Regions from separate parts of the Homo sapiens genome. Here regions 2, 3 and 4 are each linked to region 1. Evidence: promoter capture Hi-C in 16 types of primary human blood cells and fetal thymus (Javierre and others, 2016). All regions are on one chromosome and are shown on one strand. The core of a region is centred on a gene start or on the middle of the fragment in contact, and the rest is flanking DNA. Distances in the headings are between cores, read along the strand shown. Region 1 holds the start of SPR (sepiapterin reductase). Region 2 overlaps NOTO (notochord homeobox). Region 3 overlaps CCT7 (chaperonin containing TCP1 subunit 7). Region 4 has its middle 13 kb from the start of NOTO.

The links. The method cuts DNA at HindIII sites, captures the fragments that hold promoters and counts their contacts. A CHiCAGO score of 5 or more calls a contact.
Region 2: a contact is called between a fragment that was not itself captured here and the fragment with the promoter of SPR in region 1, in 9 of 17 cell types (endothelial precursors, megakaryocytes, monocytes and 6 more). The highest score is 11.2, in endothelial precursors.
Region 3: a contact is called between a fragment that was not itself captured here and the fragment with the promoter of SPR in region 1, in 1 of 17 cell types (endothelial precursors). The highest score is 5.1, in endothelial precursors.
Region 4: a contact is called between a fragment that was not itself captured here and the fragment with the promoter of SPR in region 1, in 4 of 17 cell types (fetal thymus, endothelial precursors, megakaryocytes and 1 more). The highest score is 9.8, in fetal thymus.

The regions. Positions count from the first base shown.
Region 1 is chr2:72,886,156-72,888,958 of GRCh38, reverse strand. SPR (sepiapterin reductase) reads right to left here and starts at 1,551. Exons shown (of 3, transcript NM_003124.5): 1 at 1,223-1,551; 2 at 355-645. The coding sequence starts at 1,526. RefSeq lists silencers at 497-671, 1,310-1,699. The HindIII fragment of the contact is 9,789 bases long and covers 1-1,981 here.
Region 2 is chr2:73,210,232-73,212,995 of GRCh38, reverse strand. NOTO (notochord homeobox) reads right to left here. Exons shown (of 3, transcript NM_001134462.2): 3 at 483-2,225. The coding sequence ends at 2,067. Among named protein-coding and RNA genes, the nearest start is that of SMYD5, 2.6 kb to the left of the region's middle. RefSeq lists a silencer at 218-287. The HindIII fragment of the contact is 2,592 bases long and covers 127-2,718 here.
Region 3 is chr2:73,237,083-73,239,879 of GRCh38, reverse strand. CCT7 (chaperonin containing TCP1 subunit 7) reads right to left here. Exons shown (of 12, transcript NM_006429.4): 2 at 84-237. Among named protein-coding and RNA genes, the nearest start is that of CCT7, 4.2 kb to the right of the region's middle. The HindIII fragment of the contact is 760 bases long and covers 882-1,641 here.
Region 4 is chr2:73,188,600-73,191,301 of GRCh38, reverse strand. No RefSeq gene overlaps it. Among named protein-coding and RNA genes, the nearest start is that of NOTO, 13 kb to the left of the region's middle. The HindIII fragment of the contact is 4,620 bases long and covers 1-2,702 here.

The sequences.
Region 1 (2,803 bases), core at 302-2,801:
AGTATCTCATTCAGTCTTCCCAAGTGCCCTGTGAGGCAGGGAGCGTCTTCCCCATTTCACATGAGGAAGGCCTGGAACTCAAACCCCAGTCTTCTCCCAAACTCCATCTAATACCTCAGACCTTCCTGCCCCACCCTCCAGTCCAGGAAACTCCTCACTCTCTACCAGTATCCCCGGCCCCTGCCACCTCTATTTCCCCTGGGTCTGTATTTCCCCTAAGGGGTGATGGGTCAAGATTCAAGGACAAAATCCTGTGGGTTGTTTCCTGGAGGGGGCGGACTAGGCCGCTTGCCCAGCCCCCAGAGGCGCACCAGTGGGTTCTGGAGGACAGGGACGGCAGGACTTCCCACCTACCTGGGGCATAGTTCAGCACCCTCACATTAGGTTCCTCCAGCGCCAGGACCTGGAACAGCATATCACGAGCAGCCTTTCCTGCACAGTACAGCGCCCAGCCTTTGAAAGGTTGCAGGGCACAGAGGGACGAGATGTTAACCACGGTTCTGTTGAGGCCAGGACTGTCCGGGAAGGCCTTCAGGACGCTGGAAGTCAGGCAGAGCATGGAGGTCAAGTTCAGTGCCCAGTAGTTGTTCACTTGAGTGGAGTCACTCAGGTCCACGAAGCCTTTGGACACATCCCCAAGAGAGCCTGAAAAACCAACCCTTAGGAGTAACTCAGTGCAGGCGGGGCTTTCTTCTTCCCCAGCCCTCCCAAGTTCCTCCAGATATCCTCTTCCCATGCAGACCTAGAGGAGGAAGCTGCCTAGCGCTTCTGAAGAGGCTTCTCTCTTCCCCAGCTCTGCGGAAAGACACAGCTGGGGAACCTAGCCATCCCAAGCTGCAGAATGAGAAGGCACCTGCCTTGCCGTGGGGCTGAAGGAAAGCTCTAGCGGTCCTTTGGAGAAGCAGAGAGTTTACTTGTTTGGAGACTCCAAGCCCTGACTCAGGCCTCCGCCAGAGGGCGCAGAGCAAGGGGCTCGGGAAAGTTCTACAGGCGCTTTGGAAAACCCGGCTGGCCAATTTTCCAGGAAGTGGGGGCAGACTGTTGTCCCGACGGCACCGAGTCTTCCTGTACACCTCGCCTCCACTTGCTACTCAAGCTGGAACAACTAGGGCTTTAGATTTCTAGGCGTCCTATCTGACCCCTAGGAGTAGCCCTTAAATTCCCCAGCGGTGGAGGAAGTGGGCGCTCACATGGGGAGTCCGCTCCAGCCCCGGGGTCTTACCCGCGTTGTTGATAAGCAGCAGTCGCTGCAGCCCCTTGGGCCGGGGGAGCTCGCGCAGGGCGCCGAGCAGCTGCTGCAAGCCGGCCTCGGCGCCCAGGTCGGCGGGCACCCGCACCACGCGCAGGCCAGACCGCTCGGCGCCCAGCTCGGCCTCCAGCTGGCGCAGTGCCTCGTCGTTGCGGGCGCTAAGGACAAGCACGGAGCCGGGCGACAGCAGCGAGGCCAGGAGCGGGGCCAGCGTCCGGCCGAAGCCGCGGGAGGCCCCGGTCAGCAAGCACACAGCACGCCCCAGCCCGCCCTCCATGCTCCTGTTCTCCGCCGGCGGCGCTGGCACCCGAGACCAGGCAGGAGGCGGTGCGGCCGCGGGGGGCGGGACCGCTACGGGTGTCGGCGGGGCCGCCCTGCCGGGGCGGGGCGGGAACCTCAGGCTTCGGGCCGCGAGCGCCCAGGGGTGCTGGTTCCCTTGGGATCTGGTTCCCTTGGTTGCTGGTGGCGGAAGTCAAACCGTGGCGGTAGCCCAGTCCGTGCCAAGTGGGACAACAGAGAGGGCCGGCAGGCGCGGCCCACACGGAAAGCCCTAGCCCGGTTCCCAGCGCTGCCGTGTTCTTCGCCCGCAAGCTCAGCCTCCGGCTGGGACGCATGCTCGAATTTCCTCCCAGTTCCAGCCCTAACTTTGCACTACTGACCTCTTCCAGGGCAGGCCCTGCACTGGGTGCTGGGCGTCCCTGGTCGTGGCCAGTGAACACCCTGAATGAAGCTTATGCCTGTTTAGGAATTGAAGTCTCTGCTTGTTTGGGAGCTCACCGCTCTCTGGATGACAGGAGCTTCCTCTGGGAGAACCACAGTGGCTCCAAATGATATTAAAACCTTTCCCTTTTACTAGGCCCTGAGCAGCTCCGTGATCCCACCAGTAACCCCTGCTTCTCTGAGATTTCTGACTCCTGTCCCTAAAAGTGTGTTCCCCAGGATTCTGCTCCTGCTCATGCTACAGTCTCCCTGGCAGCAATTCCATCCACTTTCAGCTTCAAGTTTGCGCAATCATCTGTCTGTACCTCCAGGCAGGTGCTTCAGAAAAATCCACATTTTTTTTTTTCTAGGAGAGGAGGAACGTGAGACAAGTTGGCATGCAGCTACATATATTAAAAAGGAATCTCTTCATGGTTTCCTTCTTAGTGGCCGAGTGGTATTCCATTGTGTATATACATATGTCCAAATATTGTGTGTCAGTTTTTAAAAAACGAATCTCTTTAGAGTTTAGCAAGGGCAGTAAGTAACCTCTGATAACTTAGCCCAATTCCCCACAGGGCTGATCCCTCCCCTGGGGCTAAACAGCAAAGTTACCGCCTTTCCACTATTATTGCCAACTCTAAGGAAGAAACAACTTGGAGGAAGGCTTTTTTCTTTTCTTTTTTCTTTTTTTTGACAGAGTCTCGCTCTGTGGCCCAAACTGAAGTGCAGAGGTGTGATCACAGTTTACTGCAGCCTTGAATTCTTGGGCTCAAGCAATCCTTCCACCTCAGGCTCCTGAGTAGCTAGGATTACAGGTGCGCACCACCACGCCTGGCTAATTGTTTTTTAAGC
Region 2 (2,764 bases), core at 173-2,672, 320 kb before region 1:
TGGGGAGGTCTAGACTGCAATGAGCCGTGATCAAGCCACAATTATCTATCAAATAATTATAGATAGATAGATAGTTGGCAGGGACAGAGAAAGGTTCTTGAAACTGACCCTGCCTCTCCTCAAGCTTGCAACCTGGTGTCAAGGAGCGAATAGTCCACGGACTTGGGGGAGATAGATAGTTGGCAGGGCCAGAGAAGAGGCTCTTGAAACCGACCCTGGGTCCCCTCAAGCCTGCAGCCCGGTGTCAGGGAGCGAATAGTCCACGTACTTGGGGGCAAACCTACCCGAGAGCAGCTGGGGGCCGTGCCCTCACTCACCACCAGGTGGCAGGGCAGGCTTCCTTCCATCCCTCAGCTCAGTCCCCAAGAGCCATTCTAGAATCTGAATGGTCTGTGCTACAGAAATCAGCTCTGCAAATCCTGGCAGCAGGCTTCTTTCAGAGAAATCGAGCACATTCTTGAGAAGAAAAAGGAGCCATGAGTCAGAGTCATGAAAGGGGGAAATTATAACTGTCCTGTGAAAACACAGCAGAGTTTATGACAAAATGCCAGCCTTGGCATACACAAATTATTCTATAAAAAGATGGGGCTTTGGGAGGCCAAGGCAGGAGAACCACTTGAAGCCTGGAATTCAAGACCAGCCTGGGCAACAAGTGGACGTTGTCTCTACAAAAAATGTTAAAAATTAGCCAGGCGTGGTGTCACGCGCCTGTAGTCCCAGCTGCTTAGGAGGCTAAGGTGGGAGGATCACTAGAGCCCAGGAGGTTGAGGCTGCCGTGAGCTATGATTGCACCACTGCACTCCAGTCTGGGTGACAGAGCGAGTCCTTGTCTTTGCTGCTGGGCCTGAGCTTCTTCTGAGAATGGTAACAGTTCAGACAAAACAAGAAAACGTTGGGAAACTTTGTGAAGTGGGCTAAACAGTCTACCTTCTCTTCTTTGCTCTCAACTCCTTCTGATGGTGAAGAGTCTTCTATGCCCAGATGCTTATTCAAAGAGGTTCCTTCTCCACAGCCAGGCCAGGAAAATATTAATTGCTGGTACAGGTATTACTCCCCCAGGTGAGGGGAGCTGTGATATTATGAAATATATATTTGGTCTTCATCTCGATTTCCTGGCATAGAACTCCTAAAATCCCTAGAATCTCTGAAGTGATGTCTTTTCATATGCTAATGAGTTGACTGATGACTGGTAGACCTTAAGACTCCATAAAAAACAAAAAGGGCAGGGTTGGGCCGGGTGGTGGCTCACACATGTAATCCCAGCACTTTGGGAGGCCGAGGTGGGTGGATCACAAGGTCAGCAGTTCAAGACCAGCCTGACCATATGATGAAACCCCGTCTCTACTAAAAATATAAAAATTAGCCAGGCATGGTGGCATGCGCCTATAGTCCCAGCTGCTCGGGAGGCTGAGGCAGGAGAATCGCTTGAACCCGGGAGGCGGAGGTGGCGGTGAGCCAAGATCGCGCCACTGCAGTCTGTCTCAAAAAAAAAAGAAAGGAGGGGCTGCCATGTGGAATGAGCCCTGAATCTGTGGGGTCAGACACTACCTGCAGGTAGATCATGTCAGAATTTGCTGAACTGGAGGTTGGAATGTGGGGTACACCCCTATACGTTTGGTCACAGAAGTGTTCTGTGTTGATTGTTGTGGGGTGACAGCAGAAGAAAAAAACTTTTTTTTTTCCAGTTGGTCTTCTCTACTCAGGGGCCTACAAGCCTTAACAGTAACCACACACTTTGCACTGTGCATGGCACATTATTGCTTTACAGACATCTTCTCACCCCTGGGTGATCTAAGTTATGAATGCACCCATTATACAGATAAAGAAAAAAGGCTCGGAAGTTCCATAGGTTGGCCAAGGACATAGCTGAAGGCCAGAGTCTGTGCCTCCAATCATTACATTATTCCAGTTTCCAGGAATCAGTATAGAAAAGGGGGTCCCTGCTTGACAGCTCAGATTCTTCTGGTTGAGGAGGCTTTTCGTTGAGGTGTGAGGCAGGGAGCTCCAGTGGGTACCCCCAGGAGGAACTAGTCCAGGCAGCCTGGCTAGGGCCTCTGTCCCAGTCTTCAGCCGTCCACTCCTGACTCGGCATCATCACTCTGGATACTGGCGATGGAGCTGCTGGAAGGCTCATCCAGGGAGGCAGCCTCGGCAGATGTAACTGCTGCCCTCAGCTTTTGCTGCTTCTGATACTTGACCCTGCGGTTCTGGAACCAGACTCTCACCTATAATTGGAGAGTGGGCAGAGATCAGAATGTGACCATCAGGTCCCACTGCTTCCTAATTCCTGGAGTGAACACCCCTCTCTGCCTGGCCAATATTTGCTCTTCCTTCTCAGGGAGGTACCTCCTCCAAAACACCCCTTTCTACAATTCCAGACACCATTCATTCATCTGAGTATTTACTGAGTTTCCAGTATGTGCTAAGCACCATCCTAGGTGATGCTGATACAGTGGTGAGCAACAGAGGCAAGCTGCCTGCCCTCGTGGAGCTCATGAGCTAGTGAAGAAACACTGGCAAGAAACATGTAAACAAACAAAGAGCTATGTAAACACAAAAGGGGGTACAAACAGGGGTTTGGGCAGAGGAGGCCTCCCTAAGGAGCCAGCATTAAAGCTGAGGCTCAAAGAGAGAGAGGCCCACCTGATGGGGACAGAGAAGAGCAGGTCTGCAGGGCAGGGAACAACCTGTAGGAAGGCTCTGAAATGGAACCAAGCTTGGAGTGTTTGAGGACCAGGAAGGAGGAGAGCACGGATGACAGTGA
Region 3 (2,797 bases), core at 12-2,511, 350 kb before region 1:
TGATACCAACCTATGCTAGTCCCAAACACCCCCTCAGGAGCCTCCTTTCCTGCACACAGGCCTGAGGAACTCTGTAGACTTACCTCTGCCATCTACAATAAGCTTGTCCATGCCACGGGGACCCAGGGTAGTTCTTACAGCCTCAGCAATCACCTGGCAGGCACTGATGTTACTCACAAGCTGGGGGATGCCTTGGGAGCTATCAGTCCCCTCTTTCAATAGGATAACTGGTGTGGGCTAGAAAAGAAAGAAATTAACTGCTTTTAATAATCATCTATTATAATGAGACTGGCAGGGGAAAGGGGAAAATGCTCCCATCTCTCCCTTAACAGAATTATCTAGAGGTCTTCTTAAACCACATTCCCCCAACTGTCTACCACATCCATTCCCCAACCAGCCTCTACCTCCAGAGACACTATCAAATTTAGCCTACCCTGCAGGTATGCTAGACAGGAAAATGGTTTGAGAAGCACTGACCTAATCTAAAAGAAAAAATCATGAGTTCTCCAGTACCCAGCTGAATGACCATGGCCTTTTCAACTTCTGACCTTACTCCCTGTGCTGAGGAATTGGGTCACAACACAGGAGGAAGAGGCAGACCCTGCTAAGTGTTCATTCCGCAGCAAAACATCCACTTGTCTGTGTTACAGCTCAATCTTAGAGAAGCAGATGGGACACTGATGCAAAATGCAAGATGCCAAGAGCTTGAGGTGTTGTCCTAGAGATGCCTAGGCAGTCAGCTTTATGTAACAGTGATGTTCAGCTGCAGTGTAGGAAAACAGGCAGAGAAACAAACAGCACCTTTGCCCTGTTTTGAAAAATGATGGCAAATCTAATTCATACAGCAATGTTTCCATCTCTCATGCTGGCTGAATAAAGCTTCTGTGTGACTAATTTCCAATCAGATACCCCAAAGAAGTTTTCCTCTTTCTATATTGCATTGGTCTCCAGAACATTCCCTATCCCCGTAAGGGCTTCATTTGCAGACCTGCTTTAGAAACTGAGAAACAGGGATACTTGCTTGTTTTAAAGGGCCCGCTCAGATATCTTTGCTCTAGTGACCACCATTATTAGCAGAGAGAGCAATTTCTCAGCTTAGCAAACCAGACTACTTTCTCTCCACATTCAAATCTGAGCCTTCAGAGATAAGCCCACGAACTAGATCCAGTCTTCTCAAGTGTTTCTGGCTAATTTTGTGTGTGACACAGAATGTAGTAAGGATAAATACTATTTCAAAACTTTTATTGTGTTAAATTTGTTACTAGGCTATGATTAAAAATGTATTTCTTACTGTGGAATGCAATAAAAAGTTTGAAAGCCATCACCTAGTCCTTAGAGGTACGTGGATGTCTGAGCAAGGAAGGCACAGGAAAGCACAGAGCTTTCCCAACCTAACAATGAGGAGTGAGGAATTCCTGCCAAAGACAGAGTCTTGCCACTCATGAGGCTGATTCCTTATTAACTGGTCAATTCCTTAAAAAGTTCAACTCTTTTGGCCAGCGCAGCTGGAGGGTAGTAAGCAAGAGGAAGACTGGAATAAAGCTGAAGAGGCAGGCAGGAACCAGATCACATACACACTCGTAGACACACTATGGTGAGGAGTTCAGATTTCATTCCTAAAAAGGAAAGCCCTGGGAAGCTTTCAGCAGAGGAATGGCATACTGTGATTTACATAAAAAACAAAAACCACTGTAGAAAAAAGAGGATCACTTGAGCTCATGGAGTTCAAGACCAGCCTGGGGAACATGGCAAGACCCTGTCTCTACAAAAAGAAAACGAAAAATACCCAATAAACTCTACGGAATAAGAGAGTGGGAGTAATTTAATATATTATTCATTTTTTAATATATATTTCTAAGAGACAGGGTCTTGCTCCACCACCCATGCTGGAGTGCAGTGGTGAGATCATAGCTTACTATAAGCTCAAGCCTCCTGAGTAGCTGGACCGCAATGCATGAGGTACCACACCTGGCTAATTTTTTAAATTTGTATTTAAAAAATGTTGCCCAGGCTGGTCTCCAACTCCTGGCCTCTAACAACCCTCCTGCCTCAGCCTTCTGAAGTGCTAGGATTACAGGCATGAGGCACCATGCCAGGCCCTCATTAAATTTTTTTAAATGCTTGTCAAATAATCATACATTACTCCTTTTATTTTTTATTTTAAAAAGAATGCTTGTCATGTAAACCCCTACATTTGGGATCAGGCGTCAACTGAAGGGAAAATTCCTTCCTTTTGCTGGAGTGTCCCAGGTCTGGTGGCAAGAAATGGCTTCTCTATACTCCCAGCATTCTTTCTGGCTCTTCAGCTGGCCCAGTCCCTGGCACCTTCTGTAAGGGAAAGATGTGTGTCCTGAAAGGCCCTACCATCTCCCAGTCTTGCTAAATCATTCCTTATGGCAGCCCCAAGTCTTCTCTGGTCCACCCCTGCCACGGATGGAGTCTTACACTTTAAATCAAAAACTAACATGAGTCTCAATCACTTCCTATCACCTTCAACAGGTTCTTTCACCTCAACAGGTTAACTTACCCAATGCTTGTGTATACTTTTTCTCACCTCAACCTGCAAAGTGTACCCCCATCTAAAATAGTCACTCTGCCATCTTCTACCAAAACCACTTTCTCACCACCAGGCCACCAATTCCTCAGAGCTCCAATTCTTCCAAGAAGTTTTCTCTACAGTAATAAACAAGGGCATCTGAATAGGGGAATCCCATAACTTTCTCTTCACTTGCCCTTGCTCGCAACTTTTTATCACCATCCAGCTTAAGTACAAGCTTTCCAAAGACAAGGACCAAAA
Region 4 (2,702 bases), core at 189-2,688, 300 kb before region 1:
TGGGCCACAGGTGAGACTCCGTCTCAAAAATAAATAAATAAATAAATAAATAAATAAATAGATAAAGTAATAACTTCATAGGTCCAGGAGGGCTCTGTGGAGGACACTTTCCTCTGCAGAGGCATCTGAAGAGAGGGAAGTCTATCAAGGGATGAGAGTGGGTGAGATCACACGGAGAGAAAATGCTGTAGTAAAAGAGAAAGGGGCTTGTATGGATCCCTTGGGGACTGCTATGTTTAGGGACAGCAAGGACAGAAGAAGAAGGATTAGTCAGAGAGGAAGGTTGACAGCCAGGGCAAATAACCCTTGTGCAGTGAGATAAGTATGTTTTCTATTCACTTGGAGCACTTTATACAGCTGGTTGGGACTTTAGCAGCAAACTAGTCAAAGCCCTTTCTTTCTTTCCTTCCTTCCTTCCTTCTTTCTTTCGTTCTTTTTTTTCCTTCCTTCCTTCCTTCCTTCCTTCCTTCCTTCCTTCCTTCCTTCCCTCCCTCCTGCTCTCCTTCTCTCTTTCTCTCTTTCTTTCTCAGAGTCTCGCTCTGTTACCAGGCTGGAGTGCAGTGGTGCAATCTGGGCTCACTGCAACCTCTGCCTCCCGGGTTCAAGCGATACTCCTGCCTCAGCCTCCCGAGTAGCTGGGACTACAGGTGCGTGCCACCACACCTGGCTCTTTTTTTGTATTTTTAGTAGAGACAGGGTTTCACCATGTTGGCCAGCATGGTCTCGAACTTCAGACCTCATGATCCGCCTGCCTTGGCCTCCCAAAGTGCTGGGATTACAGGCGTGAGCCACCATGCCCGGCCTTTTTTTTTGTTTTTTGTTTTTTTTTTTGAGATGGAGTCTCACTCCATCACCCAGGCTGGAGTGCAGTGGCACGACCTTGGCTCACTGCAACCTCTGCCTCCCAGGTTCAAACAACTCTCCTGCCTTGGCCTCCCAAGTAGCTGGGACTACAGGCACCCACCATCAGACCTGGCTAATTTTTGCTTTTTTAGTAGAGACGGGATTTCACCATGTTGGCCAAGCTGGCCTCAAACTACTAACCTCAGGTAATCCACTCACCTCAGCCTCCCAAAGTGCTGGGATTACAGGTGTGAGCCACCGCCCCAGCCCTGGCTCATTTTTTATGTTTTTTTTTTTTGTTTTTTTGCAGAGATGGGCTTTTGCTATGTTGCTCAGGCTGGTCACGAATTCCTGGCCTCAAGCAATCTTCTTACCTAGCCTCCCAAAGTGTTGGGATTTTTGATATGAGCCACTGTGTGCCTGCCCTGACAGCCCTTTCTTGTACTGAAAAGGGAAGACATTGAAGACCCACTAAGTGTGGAGTGACTTGCCCAAGAGAAAACTCAGTTCAGGACTGTGAACTTCCAGCTCACTCTGCACACCCCTGTGACAACCCAAGACCCACTTCAGTGCCGTATTCATCTTTTTATCCGCTAGTCACACCTTCCACGGTGCTTAGCACATATTGGTTGAGTTGAATTCTCTCTCTCCCCTATCATTCTAGTTTCTGAAAAAAGGGAAAAGAAAGAGGGATGGTCCTCCAGTGAACCCCTGTTATAGCATAAGCACATTGCAAGGGGCACACCTGTGCATTCTTTTTGATTCCCACAATCATACTGTTATCCCCATTTTACAGATGAGGAAACTGGATCTTGGGCAGTAATGTGATTTCTTTTACAACTAGTGACCTGCCAGAATTCAAACCCATTAGGTTGGTGCACAAGTGATTGCAGTTTTTGCTATTGAAACTAATGGTAAAAACCACAATTACTTTTTTTTTTTGAGACTGAGTCTCTGTCACTCAGGCTTGAGTGCAGTGGCCCAGTCTCAGCTCACTGCAACCTCTGCCTCTTGAGTTCAAGCAATTTTCCTGCCTCAGCCTCTTGAGTAGCTGGGATTATAGACGCGTGCCACCACACCTGGCTTTTTTGTATTTCTAGTAGAGACAGGGTTTCACCATGTTTGCCAGGGTGGTCTCGAACTCCTGACCTCAGGTGATCCGCCTGCTTTGGCCTCCCAAAGTCCTGGGATTACAGAAAGGAGCCACCACGTCCGGTCTAACCACAGTTACTTTTGCACCAACCTAATAGTTCTGTTGACTCAAATCATACGATGAGAGTGTTTATTTAATGGTTGAAATGGAATTGAATTGATTTTTCTTCTGTGCTCATAGCCCTTAGAGAGGAGGGAGGATTTTTTTTCTTTTGTGGGTAAGCAGGAGATGGAGTTATAGAAGGAGAGTGAGTGAGTGAGAGAGAGAGACAGAATCCTTTTAAGGGCCCTTTTTTTTTCTTTCTGTCTTTCTTTCTTTTTGAAACAGAATCTTGCTTTGTCGCCCAGGCTGGAGTACAATGGCACCATCCTGGCTTGCTGTAACCTCCACGTCGCAGGTTCAAGCGATTCTCCTGCCTCAGCCTCCTGAGTAGCTGGGATTACAGGTGCCGCCACCAAGCCCAGCTAATTTTTGTATTTTTAGTAGGGGCAGAGTTTCGCCATGTTGGCCAGGCTGGTCTTGAACCTGGGACCTCAAATGATCTGCTCTCCTCAGCCTACCAAAGTGCTGGGATTACAGCACTGCACCCAGTGGGGGCCAATTAATTTTAACTACTCATAACTGACCAAACTTCCAATACCCATAGGAGAGGCAAACAAAGGTATGAGTTCTTCTTTAAAAATCACCACCTATCTTACACCTTAGC